7 separate regions of the Homo sapiens genome follow, and regions 1, 2, 3, 4, 6 and 7 are each linked to region 5. Evidence: promoter capture Hi-C in human tissues and cell types (Jung and others, 2019). All regions are on one chromosome and are shown on one strand. The core of a region is centred on a gene start or on the middle of the fragment in contact, and the rest is flanking DNA. Distances in the headings are between cores, read along the strand shown.

The links. Contacts are between HindIII fragments. The study calls those that stand out against the background at their distance.
Region 1: a fragment that was not itself captured here is called in contact with the fragment with the promoter of GRIA4 in region 5 in 3 of the 25 tissues and cell types used here (dorsolateral prefrontal cortex, hippocampus and lymphoblastoid cells).
Region 2: a fragment that was not itself captured here is called in contact with the fragment with the promoter of GRIA4 in region 5 in 4 of the 25 tissues and cell types used here (dorsolateral prefrontal cortex, heart right ventricle, hippocampus and 1 more).
Region 3: a contact is called between a fragment that was not itself captured here and the fragment with the promoter of GRIA4 in region 5, in 3 of the 25 tissues and cell types used here (dorsolateral prefrontal cortex, heart right ventricle and mesendoderm cells).
Region 4: a contact is called between a fragment that was not itself captured here and the fragment with the promoter of GRIA4 in region 5, in 4 of the 25 tissues and cell types used here (H1 embryonic stem cells, bladder, hippocampus and 1 more).
Region 6: a fragment that was not itself captured here is called in contact with the fragment with the promoter of GRIA4 in region 5 in 4 of the 25 tissues and cell types used here (adrenal gland, hippocampus, liver and 1 more).
Region 7: a fragment that was not itself captured here is called in contact with the fragment with the promoter of GRIA4 in region 5 in 5 of the 25 tissues and cell types used here (H1 embryonic stem cells, dorsolateral prefrontal cortex, hippocampus and 2 more).

Annotation. Positions count from the first base shown.
Region 1 is chr11:105,863,427-105,867,095 of GRCh38, forward strand. All of the region lies in intron 5 of GRIA4 (glutamate ionotropic receptor AMPA type subunit 4), which reads left to right. Among named protein-coding and RNA genes, the nearest start is that of MSANTD4, 160 kb to the right of the region's middle. The HindIII fragment of the contact is 6,672 bases long and covers 1-3,669 here.
Region 2 is chr11:105,783,919-105,787,517 of GRCh38, forward strand. All of the region lies in intron 4 of GRIA4 (glutamate ionotropic receptor AMPA type subunit 4), which reads left to right. Among named protein-coding and RNA genes, the nearest start is that of GRIA4, 180 kb to the left of the region's middle. The HindIII fragment of the contact is 5,237 bases long and covers 1-3,599 here.
Region 3 is chr11:105,801,038-105,804,554 of GRCh38, forward strand. The region is part of intron 4 of GRIA4 (glutamate ionotropic receptor AMPA type subunit 4); the gene reads left to right. Among named protein-coding and RNA genes, the nearest start is that of GRIA4, 190 kb to the left of the region's middle. The HindIII fragment of the contact is 4,289 bases long and covers 1-3,517 here.
Region 4 is chr11:105,433,022-105,436,318 of GRCh38, forward strand. All of the region lies in intron 2 of LOC105369468 (a long non-coding RNA gene), which reads right to left. Among named protein-coding and RNA genes, the nearest start is that of GRIA4, 180 kb to the right of the region's middle. The HindIII fragment of the contact is 3,577 bases long and covers 1-3,293 here.
Region 5 is chr11:105,607,698-105,611,425 of GRCh38, forward strand. GRIA4 (glutamate ionotropic receptor AMPA type subunit 4) reads left to right here and starts at 2,376. Exons shown (of 17, transcript NM_000829.4): 1 at 2,376-2,731; 2 at 3,211-3,388. The coding sequence starts at 3,301. RefSeq lists a silencer at 3,352-3,552. The HindIII fragment of the contact is 8,669 bases long and covers 1-3,728 here.
Region 6 is chr11:105,407,149-105,410,729 of GRCh38, forward strand. All of the region lies in intron 2 of LOC105369468 (a long non-coding RNA gene), which reads right to left. Among named protein-coding and RNA genes, the nearest start is that of GRIA4, 200 kb to the right of the region's middle. The HindIII fragment of the contact is 8,590 bases long and covers 1-3,581 here.
Region 7 is chr11:105,820,092-105,823,376 of GRCh38, forward strand. The region is part of intron 4 of GRIA4 (glutamate ionotropic receptor AMPA type subunit 4); the gene reads left to right. Among named protein-coding and RNA genes, the nearest start is that of MSANTD4, 200 kb to the right of the region's middle. The HindIII fragment of the contact is 4,619 bases long and covers 1-3,285 here.

The sequences.
Region 1 (3,669 bases), core at 779-3,278, 260 kb after region 5:
TATTTTGGGAAATATTAATTAAAAGCCTATACATTACTCGGGCTTATTCCTAAGAGAGTCCAAAAAATTTTTGAAGTTGTAGCTATTCAATGTATATGAAATTTTTAAATGGTTAGTTACAGAATCCAAGAAAAATCTTTCTTCTTTCTTAAGCAATACAGCCACTTTACCTCCGACTCCCATTTCCCTCCCTCCCACTCCTGCCCCTGTATTGAGAGTTTGAGTTGTTTGACCTGAACAACTGAAGCTTTGTAAATAACTCACGATGAATCCCACAGAGCAGCCAATTCTAAGAACTGCCTGGATTGCCAAGTTCCTGTCAGAGGGTGAGTAAGGCTCAGAAAGACCCTCCACTTAGCACCTGTGCTTAAAAGACCAAGTCTGGAGGAGGCAATTGAGTGCCTAAAGCACACTGACCCATTTCAGAGGCTTAGCTGGTTTCTAAGAAGAAAATTGGCACACCTGGGTGCTTTGGATAAACTCTGAATAAGCCGTAAATGAGCTCCTGCTAAAGAAACTGGACATCTTATATATTTTTTGTCATATTAAAGAAATTAGAAAACTTGAGTGTCTACCTTTTCTATTCTTCTTGCCAAATTCTAAAAGGTTTCTTTTCTATCATGGTTGCATGGTAATAATAATAATAATAGTAAGAGAACTTTGTCCATTTAAAATGCCTCTCAGGTATAAATCTCATAAATTGCAATAAAGTCTACTGCATTGTGAGAAAATAATGTACTCTTAATTGTCCTATAAAATTTTCCTCCAAGAAAAGCTGTGTTTTTATTCTGAACATGCTGTTGTTGTTGTTTACTATCTGTATTTTAATTCCTTGTAGCTCTAAATGAAACAACTTTCAATGTTTTCTTGGTTTTACTCTTGGCTCTTCCACAAGAGCTAATCCATACTTTGTCAGGGGTTTGTACGTGTATCTTAAGACCCCTGTGTTTCAACATCCTTTTTCATAAATTAAGATAGCAAAAGAAAACAATTTCAAAAAACCAACCAAAGCATTTTTAAAAGGTAAAAAGTTAAATGCTAAATAATCTTGATTAGAAAAATGCCTTTGAAAAGGTGGACTTTTCTCAGAAGATGGTGAAATTAATACAATGATGATAAAGTTCTAGAAGGATGGACACACTTCATATTAGTAAATTTCTATGGCCGGGCATGGTGGCTCACGCCTGTAATCCCAGCACTTTGGGAGGCCGAGGCAGGTGGATCACCTGAGGTCGGGAGTTCGAGACCAGCCTGACAAACATGGAGAATCCCTGTCTCTACTAAAAATAAAAAATTAGCCGGGTGTGGTGGCACATGCCTGTAATCCCAGCTACTCGGGAGGCTGAGGCAGGAGAATCACTTAAACCCAGGAGGTGGAGGTTGTGGTGAGCCGAGATCGTGCCATTACACTCCAGCCTGGGCAACAACAGTGAAACTCCATCTCAAAAAAAAAAATTTCTAGAAGGATGGGCACATTTCATATTATGGTAGCATGCCATCAATAATTACTTCATTGACATCTTAATTTGTATCAATTTGCAAAAACATAATAGAAATAGTTCAGACAATATTCTCTCAAAATATGTTAATGGAAAACTGTGGTTATAGAAGCATTTCATCTTCTATACATGTTTTCCAAATTATTTTATGACATGAACTAATTCGTTCTTATAAATGTATTGCTATTTAATATAGTAGCTAGACATATACTCATTCAAGCATTTCAAAATATGAGTTTAAGATCAAGTATTTGAAAATATGGTTTAATGTACACCATAAGAAAAAATGGAAGAATGTATGTAAATATCACCCACTGAGTCATTTAAGAGAGTAGAAACATATTGAAACCACAAAGTTAGATTTATTTTGTTCATATCAACACCAATCAAACAAATTGGAATTTTGGCTCTCTAAATCCAATGAGCAATTTGGTCCACTCATTTGCAGAAACAAGCCTTGAAAAGAAATCTAAAATGAGAAGTATTTTTAAGTGTTTGCTGAATTTGTGATGAATTTTTTATAGAATATTTTTACTTAAATTGCTATGAGTTTGAAAGATATTATAAATATCATTGTGGACCCTAGCTTTATTCCTTTCACCTAATTTTCTTCCTATAACAAAAATATCAATTATTTTGTAGAACAGCTTGCAATAGCTTCATGTAGCTGGAATCAAAAGAACCGTTTCATATCAAAATAAGAGATTTATAGTGGGAGTCTTTTATTTATGATTTTTACATGTATCTATTAATTTTAAATTCTGAACTCTATTACTTGCAAAGAGTCCCTATGGATTCTACCTAATAACGTTATCAATTGAACATTGAAGTGTCAGACTTTGGTTCACATGTTTAACCTAGTAGCAAAAAAGCAACAACAAATCTTATCTTAACTCTTTTTCTGGTAGCCAAAGTAATTGAGCAAAATGGCACTTAAGGCTAGTGGTTGCTCACACATTTTACTCCACTGTGATAAAAACCCAAGGGTCCAGCAGCTAGATTTGTGTGTTCCTGTTAGTGAAACCCTATTCCCATGAACTCCCAACTCTGATCCTCTGGAACAGAATTATCCCAATGGGTAGTTGGATGGTCTGCACTCATCTACCTCTTTCTTTGGTCAGTTACATTATATCTCCCAAATTATGATGGTTCCAACAAAATGAAAATGAGTGTTTTCATTCTCTGAGAGATGGATAAGAAATCTTTAGTTGTTTATTTTTAAAACGTAAATGGAATCACTAACCACCTATGATTCTTCTCGTTCTCACTTTAAATAAGGACAGTTGAGCTGAGATGATCTTGAAAATCCTTGCTGTCTCTAAAAGTCAATAATGCTGTTTGCAGTGAAGTCTTTTTGATGATTTGTTTTATCCTAAAGCAATGTATAATTGTATGCATGGGATATACCTTGAAAAGAAGCGTGTATTAATAGTAAAACTTCAGTCAGGTGACCTTTTCTGGATATTTATTCATTCTACAAACATTTGTTAAGTCCCCACTGTGTTGTGTGTGTGTGTTTGTGTGTGTGTGTGTGTGACACTGCATATGCAGTGTGTGTATACATATATAATACACATACATATATATACACACATACATATATACGCATATGTGTGTGTGTGTGTGTATATATATATATATATATATATATATATATATTCAGGTACTATGCTCTGCTGAAGATACAGTGCTAAGCAAAACCGATACATTTTCTGCTATGGTTAGTAACTCCTGTCTGGTTAACTAAGGTTTAAACCAAAAGTATTTCCTAAAATCCTACTAAAATATATGATTTCTTTTAGAAATACATTATGTAGAAAGTGATAAAGGATCTTACACTGCCTTGGGGGTTTTGCTATGGATGCCAGTTATTATTAAATAGATGAGATATCAAAGGCATTTGATAGAAAACTAGAACAATATTGATCCTAGTACACATCATGGATGTATTTAAGGAATCTAACCAAGTATTTATCAGGAAAAGATAGTAAGGACTGACCTTAGAGTATGAAGTAGGTATTTAACAAAAGAATGGAGAAAAATGTCTCTACAGTTGACTCACAGGTATCTTAAACTGCTTCTTTATCATGTACCCCAGATTTAATTGGAACCCCTTTCAGCAGTATTGCCACTTTCATTATATGAAAGGGAATTTAGTGTCCCATCAGAC
Region 2 (3,599 bases), core at 256-2,755, 180 kb after region 5:
ATGAATCACTTGAGTATAGATTTAAATGTAACCGAATTATTAGACCAGAATAGACTTGTTTGTAAGCCTATTTGGATTTATATCCTGACTTTGCTTCCTCTACATATGTAGCTGGCCTTGGATTGCTGAATCTCCTTGTAGCTTAGCCTCACAAGTAAATGGAGACAATAATAGTACTTTCCTGACATGGTTGTTTTTGGAAGATTAATAAAACCCACCTGTGAAAAATGCTTAGAACAGTACCTGGGTCACTACCAACACTGTGAAGGTTATAGTTGTCTTAAGACTAATAAGTATTATTGACTTTATCCTAGAAATGTGCAGAAATATGTATTCCTATATTGTTTTTGCAAATTAATTGCAATACAATTTAGTGGCCTTATAACCAGAATCAATTTGGGAGACTTTCAAAAGCAGTTTCTGTAAATCCCTCATCATTTCTGTAATTTACATACAGATTTGATCAATAGTGAATATTCACAATTCACTTTTGTTAATAAAATATTTAATTCAATATTCATCCTTGAAAGGAGCATTTCATTATTATAACTGCCGTGAGTGCAGGAGTCTGGCCTTTCTCATCTTTGAAACCCTGGTAGACAGCAGAGTGCTGGGTCCCTGTGGGCCACTCAGCCAGTATGTGCTGCGTGAATGAGAGGTATTTAGCAAATAGCAGATTTTCAGTAAATAATGAATGGGCTTGGGCTCTTTTGTACAAGCCATCTTTTCTACTTTACCCTAATAAACTATCAATTTTGCACAAGTATGCAAATTTAAAATTTTACAAGTCTTTTTTGCATTCAAAGTTCTAAACCTACTATCCTCCTTAATTAAGCATTTTGTGGGCATAAATAAGATGTGTTGTAAGAAAGGGACCTGTTAAAGCAAAACATAACCCTTTTGCAAAGAAAAAAATATTTTTTAAAAAGGTCAACATCACTTATTGGAAAGAGTACAGCCATGATTTGTAAATTAGAGATTCTGATTCAGTGGATATAGGATAAGGCCCAGGAATCTGCAGTCTTAGGCATCCTACGTGATTCCAAATACCAGGGTTTGGGAAACACTGAGGTAGCAATAATAAAATCTACCATGTATTAAGCCCATGCAGCGTTCCAGCTACTGTTTATATGCTATATATAAATTAACTAATTTAATCCTCCAAAACACACTTGTGCCGGATTTCAAACCCAGGCAGTCTGCCTCCACAACCTAGGTTCTTGCTGGTGCATACTATACGTTATTGGGGCTCAGATAATCAGAGACATAAACTAGTCTCTCTGAACTTCAATTTCTTCATTTGCAAATTCAAAATTTATTTATTTAGGGTGAAAAATAAATGAGGTACAATCCATCAATACCATATTGAAAGTGTTTTGCACGTATATATAAATATGCATATATTGATAATTGCTATTAGATTGATCAATTAGATCAATCTGAGAGACAATATATTTTATTTCTATTAAATGAGGAATAAGCAAGGCATTACAAAAAAGAACAGAATGAAAAATGGTAAATAAATAGAACACCAGTTAAGATTTATTTAGATGATTGCTATAAAGTACCAATGGGCATCAATTGTTTCTTGGAAAATCATCACGATCAAACATTTCTGAAGCATGAACCAGGCAGATGTTGATGTACCTTAAACTTTTAGTGTTTTCCAAACCATGGTCCTTCCCATGGGAACTGACATTATAAATCAAGTGATGTTTATATCTTTAAGGTTATATGAACATTAAAAGTTACTTGTATTATATTTGATATTGGATAGACGACATTTCTAAACTGATATTATCTGCTTTTTACTCTGGTACTAAAATCAGGTAACTAAAACAAAAGGAAATGGTGGCAAACTCTTGGTTTAATCTGTATAAATTGTCGATAATATCAATTGACTAAGAAAAAAGTATTCATGCCTAGAATGAAATATCTGCTATTAGGCTGGGGGTGGTGACTCACACCTGTAATCCCAGAACTTTGGGAGGTCAAGGAGGGTGGATCACTGAGGCCAGGAGTTCAAGACCAGCCTGGACAACACAGTGAAACCCCGTCTCTACCAAAAAATACAAAAATTAGCTGGGCATGGTGGCCACACCTGTAGTCCCAGCTACTTGGGAAGCTGAGGCAGGGGAATCGCTTGACCCCGGGAGGTGGAGGTGGCAGTGAGCCGAGATCGAGCCACTACATTCCAGCCTGGGCGACACAGTGAGACCCTTTCTCAAAAAAAAAAAAAAAAAAAAAGGAAAGAAAAAGGAAGTATCTGCTATTGACCAGCAATTTATGACAATGTTTTGTAAAATATCTATGCCCACATTATGACTCTTAAGATCACATTACCGAGTTGAATCTTCTATTCAAGAGGATTATCTCAAGTCATAATGAAAGTGCGGCAATAAATTGTTTCTTTTAGGTTTATTACAACAAATTTCAACTGGATCATTTGAACAATGTAGATGTTTACATCTCAGTGTACTATTGATTTGTGGAACATTTAGCTTTCTTATTCTTGAATTTCTCCTTGTGTGAGTTCTTTAGTTGAAAGATGACACACTAAACAGTATCCAAGACTGAAGTATAATCATTTATTCATTTAACCTAAAATTTTCATGTGTTGATGTTATATTATGTACTATGCTAGGTTCCGGGAATTAAAAGATAAATATTACATAGTACATAACCTAGTCTTTCCCTTCTAATTCAGTGGAGGGAAAAATCTTTCCCCCAGAAAGGTTTTTTATTAAACGTGTATGTGTGGTATTTTTGTTTTTTGGGTTTTTTGCTTCTTTGTAAGGTAAGCTTAAAAGCGATTTTGCTATTACTCTGCAGGAGAAGCTCCGTTAGAATCTTTAATTTACAAAACAGTGGTTTTAATTGAACCACTAGCAATTATACTGTGAATTAGACTGCAAACATGCTATTATAATGCATCTTGGACTTTCAGAAAACAGAATTGGACTCCCATAAGCAAAGAGAGAAATCTCCTTCAGTGAGGAGGTAAACAGAAAGCTATCAGAGCCAACACTCACCCCCATGGAGACAGGCATTGTTCTCTGACTCTCCCAGCTTCTCCTCAGAAAGAGCTGAAAAGCACTCTTTCTTAGTGTACATTTTAAACTTTACGGTGATTTCCATCCCTGCCATTCTGGTGAAAGGAACAGAGAGACTATAACCTGGTAGGCCAAGCCAAAGACAACTAATTGAGCACTGATCTCTGTTCCAGTTCAGAAGTGTTCCAAATTCATTTTTCTGTGTATAAAGAAGTCTAAAGGCATTTAACTCTATGACAAACTCATATTCAAATTAATTAATAAATTATTATATAAACCTTTATAATGTAAATTTGAGCAATAGTGATTATTTTTCCCCAATCAATTAAAGTACATAAGGCCCTACTGTTTAGGTAAAGGCTGTGTTAGACCCTCTGAAGCATACAGAAAACGTAAGATACTGTTATAAGTCAGAGAATTTAAAGAAATCCAAGACAGGGGAAACATTTTGTAATCAACACAAGACAGACTAAAAGCAGTCTAAAAGATGTAAAGAATTCCTTTTTTTTTTTTTTTTTTTTTGAGATGGAGTCTTGTTCTGTCGCC
Region 3 (3,517 bases), core at 506-3,005, 190 kb after region 5:
ATCACAATAGAAACATTAAATCCTAATAAAATTGAGCTATTTTGTTCAGGAAAACCCAGAATAACAACCTTAGAGAATGAAATTAGGAATAAACTAAGGATTTGGAAAACACAAAATCTTATTTCTTAAAACTCAGAGAGAAAAAAGGAAGAAACTGTATTTAAATGTATCTACCTGTTGAAATATTTAAATATTTAATATTTAAAATGATGAATCAATTTAAGTATGTGTGAAAAATACAGAAAAATTAGATTGTGATATTGAATGTTAAGCCTCAATAAACTTCAGGACAACAAATATTGAAAAACATGCAGGAAATTAGGATTATAAGAATGTAGGTTTTATTTTAATAAAGATTAGAAGTAGAGAGAAAAATGAACATTTTAACAGAAAAAATAGAAAGTAATATGTTTATCTGAAATAATTACTTTCTGAATAAAAAAGTGCCAAATAAACTTTGAAGAAATTCAGAAATATCTCTAACTTCAGAGCATAAGTGAGTTCCATTAAAGTTAGAGACATAATTTTTTATTTCAACTATGTTATTTTTAATGAGAAAAATCTTCCAATTGAAAACTTTGAGTTAAAAATAATAGCCACTACCATTTACTACCATTTACTGTCTACAATGTACAAGTACTATGCTCATTGTTGGTGAGGTCAAACTAGGGAAAAAAACTGTAGAGAAGCTGAATTTGACTAAAAATAAGACAGGATTTTCTAACAATAAGTGTTATAATGAAAATGGAATTGAGTTCCTTGGTAGATATTGTGCTTCTGATCACTGAAGGTATTCAAGCAAAGATTTCATGATATCTAACTAAAATACTTTGTAATACCAAGAAGAGTATGACACCTAGAGATGAGTCACAAAGGAAAAGACATGAAGGATAGCAGTATCACAAAGCAAGGTTGAAGAAAAGGCCAGCATCTGGGATGCCAATTTGAGCAGGACATGGCAGTAATTACTGGAGATCCAAGTAAGGGGATGAGTTAACAAAGGGCTAAATTGGCAGGCAGCCTGACTGGGTCCAGATGGGCAGATGCGGCCACATCAAAGAGACTCATCAGTTTAGTCAGTGACCCAAAGCAAACTTATAAGCCCAGGGCATCTGAGTTCTAGAGGCTGGTGGTGAGAGAAGAGAGCAGAAGAACAGAAATTAGCCCAAAAGAGGCTGGAATTCAAGAACAAGATTTCATCTGCTGGTAGAACACCAAAAGCAGAGCCCGCCTGACAGTGCTGGACCAGGAGATGTTGAAACAGAGCTTCCTCTATGCATTCCTATTTAAGAACTGAATCAACCTCTCAGATTTAAAACCATCAGAAATAACTAAGTACTCACAATATGAAGATGAGTAGTTATACCTTGATAACAAATAAAATCCAAACACTTGATTAACCTCTTCAATGACCTAGCTGTCAAGATGTAGAAAGTATTAGTTAATTGAACTTTGGGCACAAAATGAAGAAAAGATTTTGAAATGCAACCAAGCTTAATATCAAAAAAGTAATTTATAACTATTAAACTTCTCAGTCTATTTTCTCACTTACTCAGCAATTTAGTGAATCTATTGAAAAGTTTTCTGGATATTGCTTACTATTCAGTTCAAAATTTTTACAAATAAAAATATTGAGTATTTCTTTAATGTTTGGCAAGATTTTTTTACAGGAATATAGAATACATCTCTTCCTAGGCTATATCCTACAAGGTAGTTAATTACAAAGATTATGTCATTGAAAAAAACAACATTTATTTTTTATTTGTTTATTTCAAAACATATTGTTATACTTTTAAAATTTACATTAGGTTTATTTCACTTACATTAAGAATATAAATATTATAGATATTATGTAATATTTTATACACATATGCACACATATATACTAAAATCTTACAATAGTGCTATTCAATATAGAATTTAATTAGGTATATCTTAAATTTATCTTTGACTTAAATCACAGTAACTAACATTTGAAATTTTTAGGCAAGACCTTTCAACTCAAAAGAAATGTGATCTACCAGGTCACAGGAAATATAGATATGTCTACTTGTCTTTTATTACATTAATATCTCCGTGTTAAAATGTGTATTGAGCCAAGCACACTGCTTGTATAAAAATCACTTATTTTTATACATCTAATGGGACTGTTTAATGGGACCTTTTCATTTACCATTTCTTAGACTGTTCTTATATATAGTATCTCTGTTAATAGTTACCAAATTCTTGCAGGAGGCAAGGGAGATATTAGTTCCATGTTAGAGAGAAGAAGACTGCAGCTCTGAGAATTTAGGTTATTTGCCACTATGAAATTTAGATATTCTCTTGGCTAATGATATATTGATGTTCACCTGTATAAATAAATATATCTTCAATGTGCATATATACATATAAAATTTTATATAGATGAGAGTCTCACAGGTTACATTAATGTGCTTCATAAGGTGGAACAAAAGTTATTAATTATACATATTAATGTGAAAATTACATTACACTAAAAAGTTAACTCTTTTAACTGTATTAAGGCATAACTGAAGTAATTAAATCAATAGGCTCTTCTGAGAAATATTTTAGATCAATGTTCATGAACAGATCAATAAATTGATGTGCTATTTCTATCATAATTCCATTTTTAATTAGTTAAGCAACACACATTGTATATCTTCCAGATAAAGAACACTTCATGAGCTCCTAATGATCCTTGCTTAGAACCTCAAAAATGTAGGAAAGGTGGCCGAGTTCTCAAAGTAAGCTTCTGATATAGTTGGTAAATTGAATAGATAGGTGATTCTGATTGGTGCTATACCAAAAAAAAAAAAAAAAAAGAGAGAGAGAGAGAGAGAAGAGCCATGATTACTAGTATCTTGGAGGTTACAGTTGAGACTAGCTCTCACTTTTACATTTGACCTTTCTTAGATTTGAAAAAAAACAAAAGGTAAATTTGAAGAGGAGAAGAATGAGGAATTTGGGCATAGAAAATTAACAGACCTGTTCATTTGCTATATATGATTGGAATTTTATTGTAGGATGCATTATTACCTACTTATGCTTGATGCTGCATTTATTTAACATGCAGATTGGTAATCTAGTGGCTCTCATTTATATTACAAACAGAAAATGTTAACATCCTAATTGATAGATTTACATGATATGACATTTCATCATAGTTTTTCTTAGCCTTTGAGGCATATAAACCTGATTATTAAAGACATGTTATGATGTAAAGCTGTCTTTTTGTTTTCCGTAATAAATAAGTGTAACTTCATGAACATCAAATGTTCTTGCTTCCAATTTATTAAAACACACAAACACACATGCACACACACACACACACACACACGCACTAGACCACTGGACCATCCTCAGGAAATGACACATATGACACATCTCCATGTTAAAGGAAAAAAGCAGAATCCCCCACTTAACAAGTTTATAAAACTATGCATTGTATTGAAAAAGAGATAAAATGAATTCTAGTTAAGTTGTATACTCCTGCACAGAAAAATGACAGTAGACA
Region 4 (3,297 bases), core at 255-2,754, 180 kb before region 5:
GCTTGTACATAGACACACTATAGACAGATGTGACAGAGGACCTCCACTTTTTCCCCACTTATTCAGCCTTGCCTTTTATTTTCCTAACAGAAGGACATCTTAAACCACTTGGCATGTCTTGCAAAAATGTTTCATCTCTCCAAAGGGAAAATTCCCCTTACATACTAGAAAACTATTACTCCATAATATATCAAAGAAGAAGAAAAAAACTGTTATGATGTGTACGTATTAGAAACTTTGAGAGATGGCAATGCAATTAAAGATTTGTGGTTTCCAAGAAATTATGCAAACTAAAGAATCTGAATGTGGTGAATCCGAATCTTCCCCACTTTAGATCAACCCCTGGAAAAAATTTATCTACTGGAAATGAGAAATAGACTAGCTTATGTCTCCCAAGCCTCACCTAAGAAAATATAGGATTAAAAAAGGACATATTCTTTTGGCATAAAGTACAAAAGACATGTCAGCAGAGGTCGTAAATCTTTATATAAAACTAGAAATAGAGTTACTGATAGGGAATAAACTCTCTTGGTTGAAGACATCTTTTTTTTTAAATACTCTAGCTCAAAAATTATATTTATATACATATTAGTCTGTCTTCATGCTGCTATAAAGAACAGCCTGAGACTGGGTAATTTATAAAGGAAAGATGTTTAATTGACACAATTCAACAAGGCTCAGGAGGCCTCAGGAAGCTTATAATCATGGCAGAAGGTGAAGCGGAAGCAAGGCACTTTCTTCACAGGTGGCAGGAAGCACTGAGTGAAGGGGGAGGAACCCTTTATAAAACCATCAGATCTCGTGAGAACTCACTATCAAGAGAACAGCATGGAGGAAACCACTCCTATGATTTAATTACTTCTACTTGGTCTCTCCCTTGACATGTGGGGATTATGGGGATTATGGGGATTACAATTCAAGATGAGATTTGGGTGAGGACACAAAGGCTAACCGTATCAACATAATACATATCTTTTGAAATTGTTTATAATTAACAAATTGAAAATACAGACAATAGACTTAAAAATACATTTCCAACAGAAATGTGTGACTACATGTTCACATAAAGATATCAATAGTGTATGTACAACAACTGTGAACAATTGACCAGAAAAAATACTTTACAAGATTAGGCAATAAACAACTTTGGAGGATAAAGCAAGGTTTGTGTTCATTAGTAACCAATAAACTACAAATAAACAGCAATAAAATAAGAGATGACCATGAACTCTGTGAACTCTTTGTGATGGGAATCTTCCTGCAGAGTTGGTTCAAATTGGTTCAAGCTTTTGGTGATGCAATTTGGCAATATATCTGAATTGTTATGTATGTTATTTCCTTCAGTCTCAAAGTTCATCTATTAGCACCCCAACTCGGAAAACTAAAAATTGAGCACATTAGCTAGCAATATTTGACTGGAGTCTTTAGTTAATAGTATTGCATTACTGTTTATTTCCTGGTTTTGATATTGGCACTGTGGTTATATACAATGTTACATACAATTAGAGAAAGCTGGATGAAGGGCATAAGGGAATTCTCTGTATAATATTTCCAATTTTTCTGCAAGTCTAATTATTCCAAAATAAAAAGTTAAAAAATAACAAAACAAAATATTAGAACAAGAAAGTTAAAAAAAAAACACATGGCAAATCAATGTAGATACAGATTCTGTTCCTTAAATACTAAACTTTATTGCTAATACAATAAAATATGGACAGAGGCAAAATCATCCTTATTTGCAGACAAATTTCTCCCTATAAAGACAAAGATAACCGAAATTTTGTTATAATTGAAAGGAGAAGGTCTAGATGTAAAATGAACAACCCACATCAAGAGCTTTCTTGTACACCAGTAATAAATTGGAGGATTATGAGAAAAGATCTGATTCACATTGGAAACAGATTAAAATGTCTATGAATAACCTTAACAAGAAATTTTGAGTGCACATCTTTATACAGTGGGCATTCCATATCTGCAGGTTTCACATCTGTGGAGTCAACCAACCACAGATCAAAAATGTCCAAAAAAGAATAAAAAATAACAGTACAACAGTAAAACATAAGACAAACTTAAAAATACAGTATAACAACTATTTACATAGCATGTACATTGTATTAGCTATTTCAGTAATCTAAAAATGATGTAAAGCCCAGTATGTGAGAGGATGTGCATAGATTATATGCACATACTACACCATTTTATACAAAGGTCTTGGACATCTGCAAATTTTATCAGGGTCCAAGAACCAGTCCCCTAGGGAAAACTATACTGGCCTCAATATTTTGTCTTTCTTTTATTTTGTGGAAGAGTTTGTGTAATAACAGCATAAATTCTTCAAAAATTGGTAGAAATATTTAGTGAAATAATCTGAGCCTAAAGATTTTTAGTTGTTTGTTTTATTTTTGTTTTTGCTTTTTACGTGAGCGAAGTTTTCTGACTATACATTCAATTTATTTAACGTCTATAGGAATATCTATAATCTATTTTATCTTGGTTCAAATTTTGGGCATTTGTAATTTTAAGGAATCAGTTCATTTATCCTAAGTTGTTGAATTTATAAGCTTCAATTCGTTCATAGTATTCCCTTATTAGCCTCTTTCAATTGCACTGGAATTTATAGTGATAAACCTGTGTAATTGAAGGGATAATAATTTGTGTTATTTATCTTTATTTTTTGCAGTCTTGCCAGAGGTCTATCCATTTTATCGAATTTTTTAAATAACCAGCCTTTAGTTTTATGAATTTTATTGGTGGTTTTTCTGTTTTCAATCTTATTGACTTATGTTTTTATCTTTATTTTTTCCTTCCTTGTGATTTTTCCAGGTTTACTTTGATCTTCTTTACTATTCTATGAAGTAGGAACATACATTGTTAATTTGAGGTCTTTTTTTTTTTCCTAGTGTAAGCTAGTAATTTGTAAGCAATAAATAGATGCCTCTCACACTGTTTAGTTGGAGCCCAAATATTTTGATATGTGGTCATATATTTCATTTAGTTCTATGTTTTTTAAAAAATTATTTGATATGTGAATTATTTGGACGTGTATTGTTTAATTTCTATATGTGTTGAGATTTTCATTTGTCTTTATGCTATTCTCATTTCATTCCATTATGGTGACAGAATATGCTGAGTTAGGTCAACTTAAAAAATTTTTTTTCAAATTTTTTTTATGGCTGAGGATATGGTCTGAGTAAATGTTTCATGAGCACTTGAAAACAGTGTATTCTGCTCTCATTGGTTGAGTGTTGTTTGAGTGTTTAGGTCAGTTAGATCCTGTTGATTGACTGGTTATTCAGA
Region 5 (3,728 bases), core at 1,126-3,625:
ACACTACCTTTCTGAATGCTAGGATTCTTGTAGTTTACTTTTCAGCTCCCAGACCCCTCGTCACTCCTTAAACTCATTAACACAGCAGGTTTTAATAAAGACAGCCCAGTCTCTGAAATCAGACAACTTGAGTCCCATCCTTAGTTATGGTTTCATCACTTACCAAGAATATAATCTTGAGAAAGAATCTAAATCTTTAGTTGGGTTACCTAACAAATGCAAGGATACCTAAAATTTTCTGTAGATCAGGTAATATATGTATGGCTTCAGCACAATACCTTGCACATTAGTGAGCATTCATAAACATTAAGAGTCTTCTAAGAATATCAGGGATTTTGTTTTGTTCAACTTTATATCTCAAACACTTGGAGAATAAATACACATCATAGGTGCTTAATATATAACTATTTGACATATATGTACATCTATATACATGTATATACGTATATAATATATGTATATATGATATTTCTATGTATCATACAGAGAAAATATATTTGATACATACATTTATAAATATATGTGTATATAATACAGATAAAGAGAGTTTAGGTTTAGAAAGTAAAATAGAGGTTTTAACTACTTGGGAAAATAGAAATTAAAAACAACTGGATTACTATTTTGGAAAAATATAGTTGTGTCATCTGTGGTTATATTAGTCCAGGTGTTATCATGACAGTTAAGTGGGGAAAAAAAACTTGTCCTGCATCTATATCAATGATGCTATTACATCATATGAAAACTGAAATCTTTCAATTTTGAGAAGAATTAAAGTTAATAATTGCCTCTGGATCAGGAAGAGCTTCACTAGTTACCCAAGCAAGTGATGAGTTTAACAGTTTGGTGGATTTTGAAATTTTAATTTAACTTGAATTTTATGTGTCATACTCTATTATCCTTTTTCAAGAGAAAACAGAATGCTATTATTCACAGCCTTGTTTTTTAACACAGAAAAATAAAAAAAGGAAAAATGCTTCAAATTTCACTTGACTTGCAAGACTAAAACTTCACAAACTAAAATGACAAATGTATGATTTGTAAAATACAGTTACAATTAGGTTTTTTTTTTCATAACAATCTGTGGTGAAATGTAACGGGAAAGCAGACACTTATTTTAAAGATGCAATTTTAAAAATAAAATTCAAAACTTAGGAAATAGAAAAGCACTCAAGTTTTAGCAGGGATTTTAAAATGTCATCTACAAACTACAAATACAGGTAATCAGTGACACCAAATAAAGTATTTTGAAAGAGTTAAGGTAATGTATATTTCAAAAAGCCGTTACCAGGCTTTCTGTAAGTCCCTTGCAAGAATTCCACTTTAAGCATTGTAGTCTCAAATATTATATCAGGCAAACCTAGGCATTTGCTATATTCTTTTTAAAAATTTAATGGCAGACATCACCCTAGGTTCCCTAACGTTTAAGGAGAACCTCTCCTTCTAATGATTCTCTCACACAGCTTATTGGAACAGGAGATTGTATTTACTAACTAGATCAGGAAATCTCAAACCATACAGAGGAAATCAGAAACCGGTCACTCACGGCTACCACAGTGACTGCTTCTGAGTGTGGTTCAAGCTCAGTCCAGGACAGGCAGATGAAAGGACAATCTTAAAGGTGACTCTGGAGAGCAAGTGAGACTGTAACCCCAAAACTTTCTAGGATAATTCATTTTCACTTCTACCCAGTCAAAACAACTATTGACATCATCACTGAAGTGCTTAAGTCTACCTGGAGGTGGCGTGGAGCAGAGTGAGCATTCCAGAGTCCCAGACAAGAGGAGATGTGCACGAAACACTATCTTCCTGTCAGACACCTGTGCCCACTGCCCCAAGCACTGCCCCTCTGGTCCTTCATCAGCCTTTGCGCTGTGTCCCTCCTGCTCCTGCAATGGGCCACAGCACAGAAGGAAAGAGTCCTCCGGAATGGGTGACTGTATAGAAAGCAATCGAATCTTTAATCACTTTTCCTACTTTACACTTCACGCAGTTCTTATTCCTATCCCTGCTTCATGCCTTTCCAAGAGAATGTTAGAGGCCTCTTTCAATTTTCATTTCTCAGTCTTTTCCCCATCCCGTTCAGTACCCTAAACTTCGTCAGTTATTTAAAATAACCTTTTACCCCCTCCTCCCCTTCCCAGGATGTTTCAACTTCTCTGGCTCTCTTCCCCATCCTTACCTCCTCCAATTCTTTCATCCTGGTCCTGGCCTCTTAAACCCGCCAGGGGCTGCCCTTTGCCTGTCTTTTCTCCTCCCATCCCTCTCTGAACCCTTTCACCTCATCCATTCCCTTGTCAGGCTCTCCAGATTCCCGGGCTGTTTGCTGGTGAGAAATCTTTGCTGCAGCGAGGACCGGAGTCCCCCGCGCGCAGCCCAGTGGCAGAAGAGGGCTAGGCTGAGAGGGAAGCCAGGACTGTAGGAGAGGGAGGCAGCCCGTCCTCCTCACGAACCTGCAAGGATGCGGCAGGGGCCTGGGGGCATGGGGAGGTACTAACCCCCCGGAGCCCCCGATTGGGGCTTGCAGACCTGGCCCGTGGGCGGATTTTCTGCCTAGCGCAGCCGAGAAGCAGAGGTGCCAGGAAAACCAAGAGAGGGGCGCTGGGGGTGCCCATCCCCAGAGTCGGTCCCTCTGCGAACCGAGGAAGAAAAGAGGAGGGAGTCAGCGAGTGGTCAGAAGGGAAAACCTGACACCAGACTGGCTCCGGAGCGTCCGGGAGACTGGGGCGCTCCGGTGAGCACCCAGGGGGTGAAGCCAGCCGAGCGGTGGGCGAGGGGCGTGCGGAGGGAGTGCGCGCTCGAGGAGGGGACGCCAGGAGGGCAGCGATGCTCCGGGCTGGTGCAGGCTTGCTGGGGGATGTCGGCTGATGCGAGCTGGAGAGCGCGTGTGGCGGCCGCGGCGCCAGTGTTTGTGTGTATGTGAGAAAGCAAGGGGCGAGCGCGAGTGCGAGTGAGGCAAAGATAGAGCGCATGTCTCATCCCTGCGAGCAGCCACTAGACGCTCCACCACCATCTTTTGCATGTGCAACATTTGCAGCCGGACAGAAAACCTCTCCCAGGGCTATGGAGACTGCGGGAAAAATCTGGCGGCTCGCGATGGATTGCTAAGGAGAACTAGTCATAATCTTAAACCACCGAAACCTCTTTCCTTTTTTTTCTTTCTTTTCTTTCTTTTCTTTTTTTTTTTTTTTTTTTGGTTGATTTTAATTTTAGCGCCATCGTCTTCAATGCTTCTCTGAACAGCCTTTAGGAAGAGTGCGAGAGAAAGAGAGAGAGCGCGCGCCAGGGAGAGGAGAAAAGAAGATGAGGATTATTTCCAGACAGATTGTCTTGTTATTTTCTGGATTTTGGGGACTCGCCATGGGAGCCTTTCCGAGCAGCGTGCAAATAGGTAAGGTGTGCTCCGATGGGGTGTGCATGTGGCTGGTTGTAGCAGATATCCGAAAGTGAGTTAAATGAGTTGCTGATAAGCAATTCAGGGAAACCTTCAGCAGTTCCCTTCCCCTCTGTTTCCCTCCTCTTCCTTTCTCTCCTTTGCAAAAAGACTTCCTCTTTAGTGCAGGTTCCGTTGGAATACACCCAGGGCAGCCCACCCATGCGTTCTCAGCCCATAGCCCTATTTCCACCTTTACCTATAGTCGCTTAAGTAGGATTGAAATAAGTTGGGGGAAAGTCTTCGGGGAATTTGGTTGTATTTTATATGATATTTATTTCCATCCCTTTCTCTAAAG
Region 6 (3,581 bases), core at 991-3,490, 200 kb before region 5:
AAAGAGTTAGTACGTGAGATCTGGGAAAAGAGAGGTTTGCACCAGTCAAAATACTTCATATGCAGCAAAAACAAGGGACTCCCAAACCTCAGTGGCTTATGGCAAACACATTTTTAAATACTCACTCATATTACATAGCCACCCTGGGGCTGCTAAGGCTGTACTCCAAGTTGCTTTGACTATGAGTCCCAGAATGACAGAGCAGATGTGTTTAACACTTTGCCAGACTCATAGCACAAGGAAAAAACAACATGGGTCTCACACTGGTCATGAAGCTTCTCCTGCAGATGGACAAAATAATCTCCATTACCATTTCATTGTCCACAGTAAGTTGCATGGTCAAGTCTGAATTTTGTTTTTTAGAGTTGGGGGATATAATTATCATCTAGGAAAGAGGGAAACCATAATTTCAATCTATTACAAAGATAAAGTATATAAATTTGGGCATCACCAGCACAAAGACACTAGTTAAAGCCCTGTCTGGGTAAATCACCAGGAAAGTAATCACAGGAAAGAGTAGAAGTCCAATGCCCAGGCACTCCAGATTTTACAGCTCTGGCTAAATTAGGAGAAGAGTCTATAACGAAATGGTCAGTAGTGTAGAGGAAAACAGAGAATGGTGCCCTGAATATCAGGTAAAATAAATCACTGGAGAAAGAAAAAGTGATGAAGGGCTTGCTGATCAAATACCTTGAGGATTGGAAATTGACTATTGTCATAAGCAATTTGCAGGTTATTTGTTACCTTGACAATACTGGTTTCTGTAGGGGGATGGAGATGAAATCTGATTCAAATAGTTTCACAAATAAACGTGAGGAGAGGAAAAGGAGTATAGACACTCTCTCAAGGAATTTTGCTTTATGTAACAAATTACAATGTCATCAGTAGAAACCATGCCTTTCCCTGTGGGGGAAAAAGAGAAACAATTAAAACAGCAGCCTCTATTGATGGAGGCTTCTGGTTCTTAAGAAAAGGACAGCTCTCAAAGAAAAAACAGCAGCCATTCATACTGTAAATTCTTGGAAGACAGTGGAAACAACTAGAATAATACTTGGGAAATAATACTTTTCTTTAAAAATGAAGAATGTTATCTATCTGTAAATTTCAATTCATTCATATTGACACCAGATAGTCTTAGAATAATTCATTCCTTTACCTTCCTGAAAAACTGTCTGCCTTTTCCTCTGAGACTTCTATGATACTTCATTTTTTCTTCTAAAATGATGTGTGTTGTCATTGTTTTTTTTACTGTAGATGGACATTAAACTACAAGGAGATTGAGGTATTGACTGCCTTGGCCATTGTGATACACCTAATATCAGATGGTTAAGGTACAATTTTCACCTATAATGCTAACCAAATGAACAAATTAAATCAATTCATCTTCCAAATGCTTTGTATACTTCTTGCCTATATTTTTCTCTTTAGAGAATCTATGACTGTATTATGGTCTTTCTTCACAACTGGACAAGCTCACATCTCACAGCAGGGAGTCAGGTTTTGTGCCATCAGGACTTAGATATATTTTGTGCAATTACTAAATATTTAAGTACTTAAGAGATTATTGGTCATCATTTAATTATCAGGAAGCTTCTCTCATTTTTGTTGTCATGTTTTGTTTTGTTTTGTCTTTTAATTTTTCTAAATGGGTAAGGAGAACCAATCCTAAGTAACTAATAATAATAGTAACAATGAGAAAAAGTACTCGTTGCATAATCTGAAAAAAAACTTTTTTTCTGCACATATGAAATAAGCACCATTGTCAAGATAATTGTTTCTTAACCGTCTGTCATTCAGAAACAATTACAAAATCTATGCATTGAAGTACAAATTCATAGTTAAGGTGTAATTTGTTATCTTTACTCCCAAATATGCAAATGTTTACCAGATATTAAAAACTAAGCAGCTATATGTGGTTATTAATCAGAAATGACTCTGGAAATTATAGTGGTAAAGTGATCTAAATAACTAGACCTTGATAGTTTAGAAACAATTAATTTGATAATTATAATCACTTAGTTGGATGAATGATGTAGCACTTCAATCAGCTATCAGCAAGCAAAGATTTTGAAGGCTGAAAGAATGAGTTAGTTGGATTTTTATTAATTCAGTCATTATAAACTATTACCAGGATGTGCTTAAAGCAAATTGTTGTTGTTGTTGTTGTCAACATATGGTTATTTCATATAATTTATTTATATAATCTATTTTATAAAATGCAACATCTAAATATTCAACATCTGTCAGGCCATGTATTACAGGATTTGTCAACTTTTTTTCTAGATACAGAATATAAAATTTGGTTTTAGTATATACACTGCTCAGCTTTTCACAAGTCAACATTTTATCTCTCTTGATATTTAAGGTTTTTTTGCCAAGTACTATGGACTGTTGCATCCTTGAAGTACCATAATGAGACTAAATGGCTTCTCTTTATTTTTATTATTATTATTATTATTATACTTTAAGTTCTAGGGTACATGTGCACAATGTGCAGGTTTGTTACATATGTATACATGTGCCATGTTGGTGTGCTGCAGCCATTAACTCGTTATTTAGCATTAGGTAAATGGCTTCTCTTTAGCGTTCTCCTATAAGTCATCTGAATGAGAATGGATCAATGTTGAGACAGTCATACTTTCCCTTTGAATGCTTAGGCTTAATTCTCTAAAAACTTGTATCCGTTTAAAGCAAGGTTAGAATCAAGCCCCTATAACACCAAGATGAGGTAAAAATAACTACTGTAAGTATTTAAATGTTTCCTTCCAGAAACAGAGGGCAAGAGCCCCCCTTCATGCCCTTCAGAGAGACTGATTAACAAAGATAAATCATTGGCTTTGCTAATATTGGATTTCAATTTATTAAATAAACAGTATCACAGTCAGAGGCTTTCACAAGAAAATGTACAGGGCAATAGGAAAAAGTGAGTCAGTTGATCTGACCCATGCAAGTTTATGAAATATGTGACTATATGAAATAAATAAAAATGAAAAAGTAAAATATAAAACGTGTGTAGGCTTAGTGATGGGGGGTTACTAATACCAATTATTAGATAAATTTTTCCAAATAATTGTTTTTCTGAAGTTGAACATATCTATGCAATTGTTTTCTCTCAATTTTCATAGAACAAATTGATATTGTATGATCTTAATTTTTTCAAGGAACAAAAAATTGAAGTTGAAGAAAATATTTTCTTCTTACAAAGGATATTGCTTTACCATTGAAGTAGAGAGATGCCTGACTTCTAGATATTTTATGCTTGACCAAGTCCTTTAAATGAAATGAAAAGATTAAAAAACAGGAATATTATAAATCAGCCTTTTATTGAAATCAAACCCATGGTCAAACAAATGTTCAATAAAATTAAAATATACCTAGAGCCCAGAGATGTAGGTGAGGAGCAAATTTCAATCTATGATGCACTTGTTCTTGTACTCAAATTTTAATAATTCCCTTTATACATTAGCTTCAAAGGCTAGGGAATAAATTGTATACCCATTTCAAAATTGGGACTAAATTGGGAAGTCAGTAAGGCAGACTAAATGTGAAATTAACCTCTTCAAAAATAAGTTGGTGACTAA
Region 7 (3,285 bases), core at 315-2,814, 210 kb after region 5:
CTTCAGAGGGAGCATGGCCCTTCAGAGGGAGCAGACTTCAGACTTCTAGCCCCTACAATTGTGATACAATAAATTTATGTTGTTTTAAACTACCCAATCTGTGGCACTTTGTTTCCACATCCCTAGGAAACTGAAATAATCCTCTTTTCACAGATAAGGAAACTCAGGCCTAGAGAGTAAGATCACACAACTAGTAGGTAAAGGAAACCATTTTTGCATTCAAAGCACAACTTTTTCTATTGAGACATCTTGTCTCTTTCCATCATTCCTTTGCACACTGTTCACTCCAGCCGTGCTCTTCATAACCCTTCCTCAAACATGCCAGTCATGGACCCTCTTTATCTTTGGTCATAGGGAAAAAATATATATTTATTTGTCGGCTCCCCCATGCCAGGCATCTCACTGGGCAGTTTTCATATGCAATGTTCTCTCAGTCTTGCATATGAAATGAATTTTCTGCCATTTTTCCTACATGAAAATCCTCATTCTTCAACTGCCAAGTGAAATTCTCCAAATCCATCAAGCTTTCCATCTATGTTGTCAGAATTATTTTTTTTCTGTTTATTTCCATTGATCTCTAATTATTTATTATTCCATTTATCTCTAATTTTTGTTTGTAGGTGATTCATAGTCTATAGCATTCTGTCAATTTCACTGAATTTTAAGATCTTTAGAGACAGGGTCAGAAATGTAATAGCCCTTTAAGGAACAACAGACAAAGTCACTAAAATTTTTACTTAGACTCCACAATCTGAAATGTAGCTTTTCCTGATTTACATATGCCATATGCAATCTTTGTCTTATTTTCCAAACCAAAAATTGGTCAGCAGGCTGTTAAGAACAGAAGAGCGAAAACTTCCCTGATGGTATATGAGGCCTGAACGTTTATTAGTTTTTGTTATTGTTTTTGTGTTTAAATTGGTTCTCTATTTACTGTACCATTGACCTCTCTTCCTCACTCTCATACCTTCTGTTCAATTTGAAATTTCACTGAATGTTTAGACATCCAAAACTGAGAGCTCACTCAGTTTCAACACTCAATAAAAAGGTGAGATAAAAGCTTAAATTTTCATAAAGTAAAAGTCAAAATTTGTACTTTAGAACATGGTTTCAGAAAATAATAACAACAATATAGGAAAACAAAGGAAAATCAAAATCTGAATGATTTAGTTAAAATTGTATTGAAGCAATTTGATTTTGGCAATATTGTTCCCTCTGAAGAAATTGTAGGAGGGGGTATTAGGTCGTTCTTGCATTGCTATAAAGAAATAACTGAAACTGGGTGATTTATAAAGAAAAGATGTTTAATTGGCTCATGGTTCTACAGGCTGTACAGGAAGCATAGTCCTGGCATCTGCTTGGCTTCTGATGAGGCTTAAGGAAGCTTATAATCACGGTGGAAGGCAAAGGGAGAGCCGGTGTCTCACATGGCAGAAGCAGGAGCAAGAGAGAGAGGGCGGGGGAGGAAATGCCACATTTTACAACCACCAGATCATGTGAGAACTCACTTATTTCAAAGACAGCACCCAGCCATGAGGGATCCACCCCCATGACTCAAACACCTCCCACCAGACCCCACCTCCAATAGTAAGGATTACAATTCAACGTGAGATTTGGGCAGGGATAAATATCCAAAGTATATCAGAGACTCTTCATAATTTGAATTCTGTAAATTTCATTTCTTGTTCATAATTTTCCCATAAAATTTATGCTAAAAAAATTCTTAATACCCACACACACTTAACACATTATGCCAGTAACTGGCACAAACCATGACTTATCATATTAAGCCGAGTCAGGCTGATCTCACTGCTGCTTCGAGGTACCCATAAAATGCAGCAGAACTACTGCACATTGCAGGTGAGCTAGACTCTGCTGCGCTCGCCACGCAGGTTCCCAGAACCGGGAAAATCCTTTTGCTGTAGAACAATTTGCGTTACAAAGAGATGCTAATACCTAAAGCATAAGTGTAACTGAAATGCTTAGCTTTAAGCCAGGCTGTGCCTTTGTAGACGTAGGGTTATTTAAACTCCTGTAGCATCTTTCTTCAGAGTAATGAGGAACTTGACAAATAATATAAATATAATTTCATGACTGGCATGCAATAATAATCAAGATAAAGTTTAAATGCCAGGCAAAAGACATATAGCTAGGAGTGCTGCCCAATGCCTACCCCAGAGGAAATCAGAGTGGCTCTTTGAGTAAAAGAATGTGAAGTTTCTTTTACTCAAGACCTTTCTGTTTTCTTTCAGTTTGATTTAACAGAATTATGAGGGGGGAAAAATGAGAGGAAGTCAGACACACACTATAAATGTTTATACTTATGCAGGTCAGTGTCACCAAGTAGGTTGCAAAGTCTTAGGAGGGAAATTTGTTCTCATTACCTTTACATGTCTGTAACACTTAGCATAATGTCTGGCATAATGTCTGAGCAATGGTAGGGTGCTCAGGGAATGCAATGATTTTTCAACCCAAATTTTCCTTTTACCATATTTGTTCATGTGCTTCTTCAATTATATGTTCATGTAATTTTACTTAAATTTTGTTTTGCTTTGGTAATTGAGTAATTAAAACAAAGTATGGTGAATTGGAGTTTAATTATCCTTGTGGTATGTTTTAATATCTTCTTAACATAATAATAGTATAATGCCAGTTAAGAAAGTGAAACCATCTGGAAAAAGAAGATGGGGTTAATATGTCACAAAAGTATATAATAAAAATTGATTTTCTTATGGGAGTGTATAATATTTGCAAGGCAATTATTTGCAAGGACTGAGTAGAGTGTAAATGTTGAGTAAATGTATTTTTGGTTATTACTCTTTCTGCTGTCTTTAATACAATTGATGCTTCTGAACATTTCTTCTTCTATCATGTTGTAAGTACTGAGTTCTTTTCAGTATGTATTTATAGCCTCTTCCAATGTTTTCTGCTATTTTAGAATGATAGTGGTACCAGGCAATATATTAACTCTCTTAGTTCAATCCCATTTCATATTTCCCCATTAATCTTGTTCAGGATTTCTGTCAGGATCTTCTCAAATGCATTGTGATAAAGCAGGATTCATATCACTGCTTACAAAACTTCATTTGGAATCACAATATTTGTTGGCAGATTCATGTATGTCTCCCAGTGGATTTAACCAGAGCTAGTTCTGACTTATGGAACACAGCTTGAATTACAGAAGCCACTATTTACAGACCGAAGAGGTGGATTTCTTTTTTTTCTTCTCTTGTCATAAACATCCAATTTCTTCTACAAGAACAGGCAAGAATTCTGCGGTTAGGT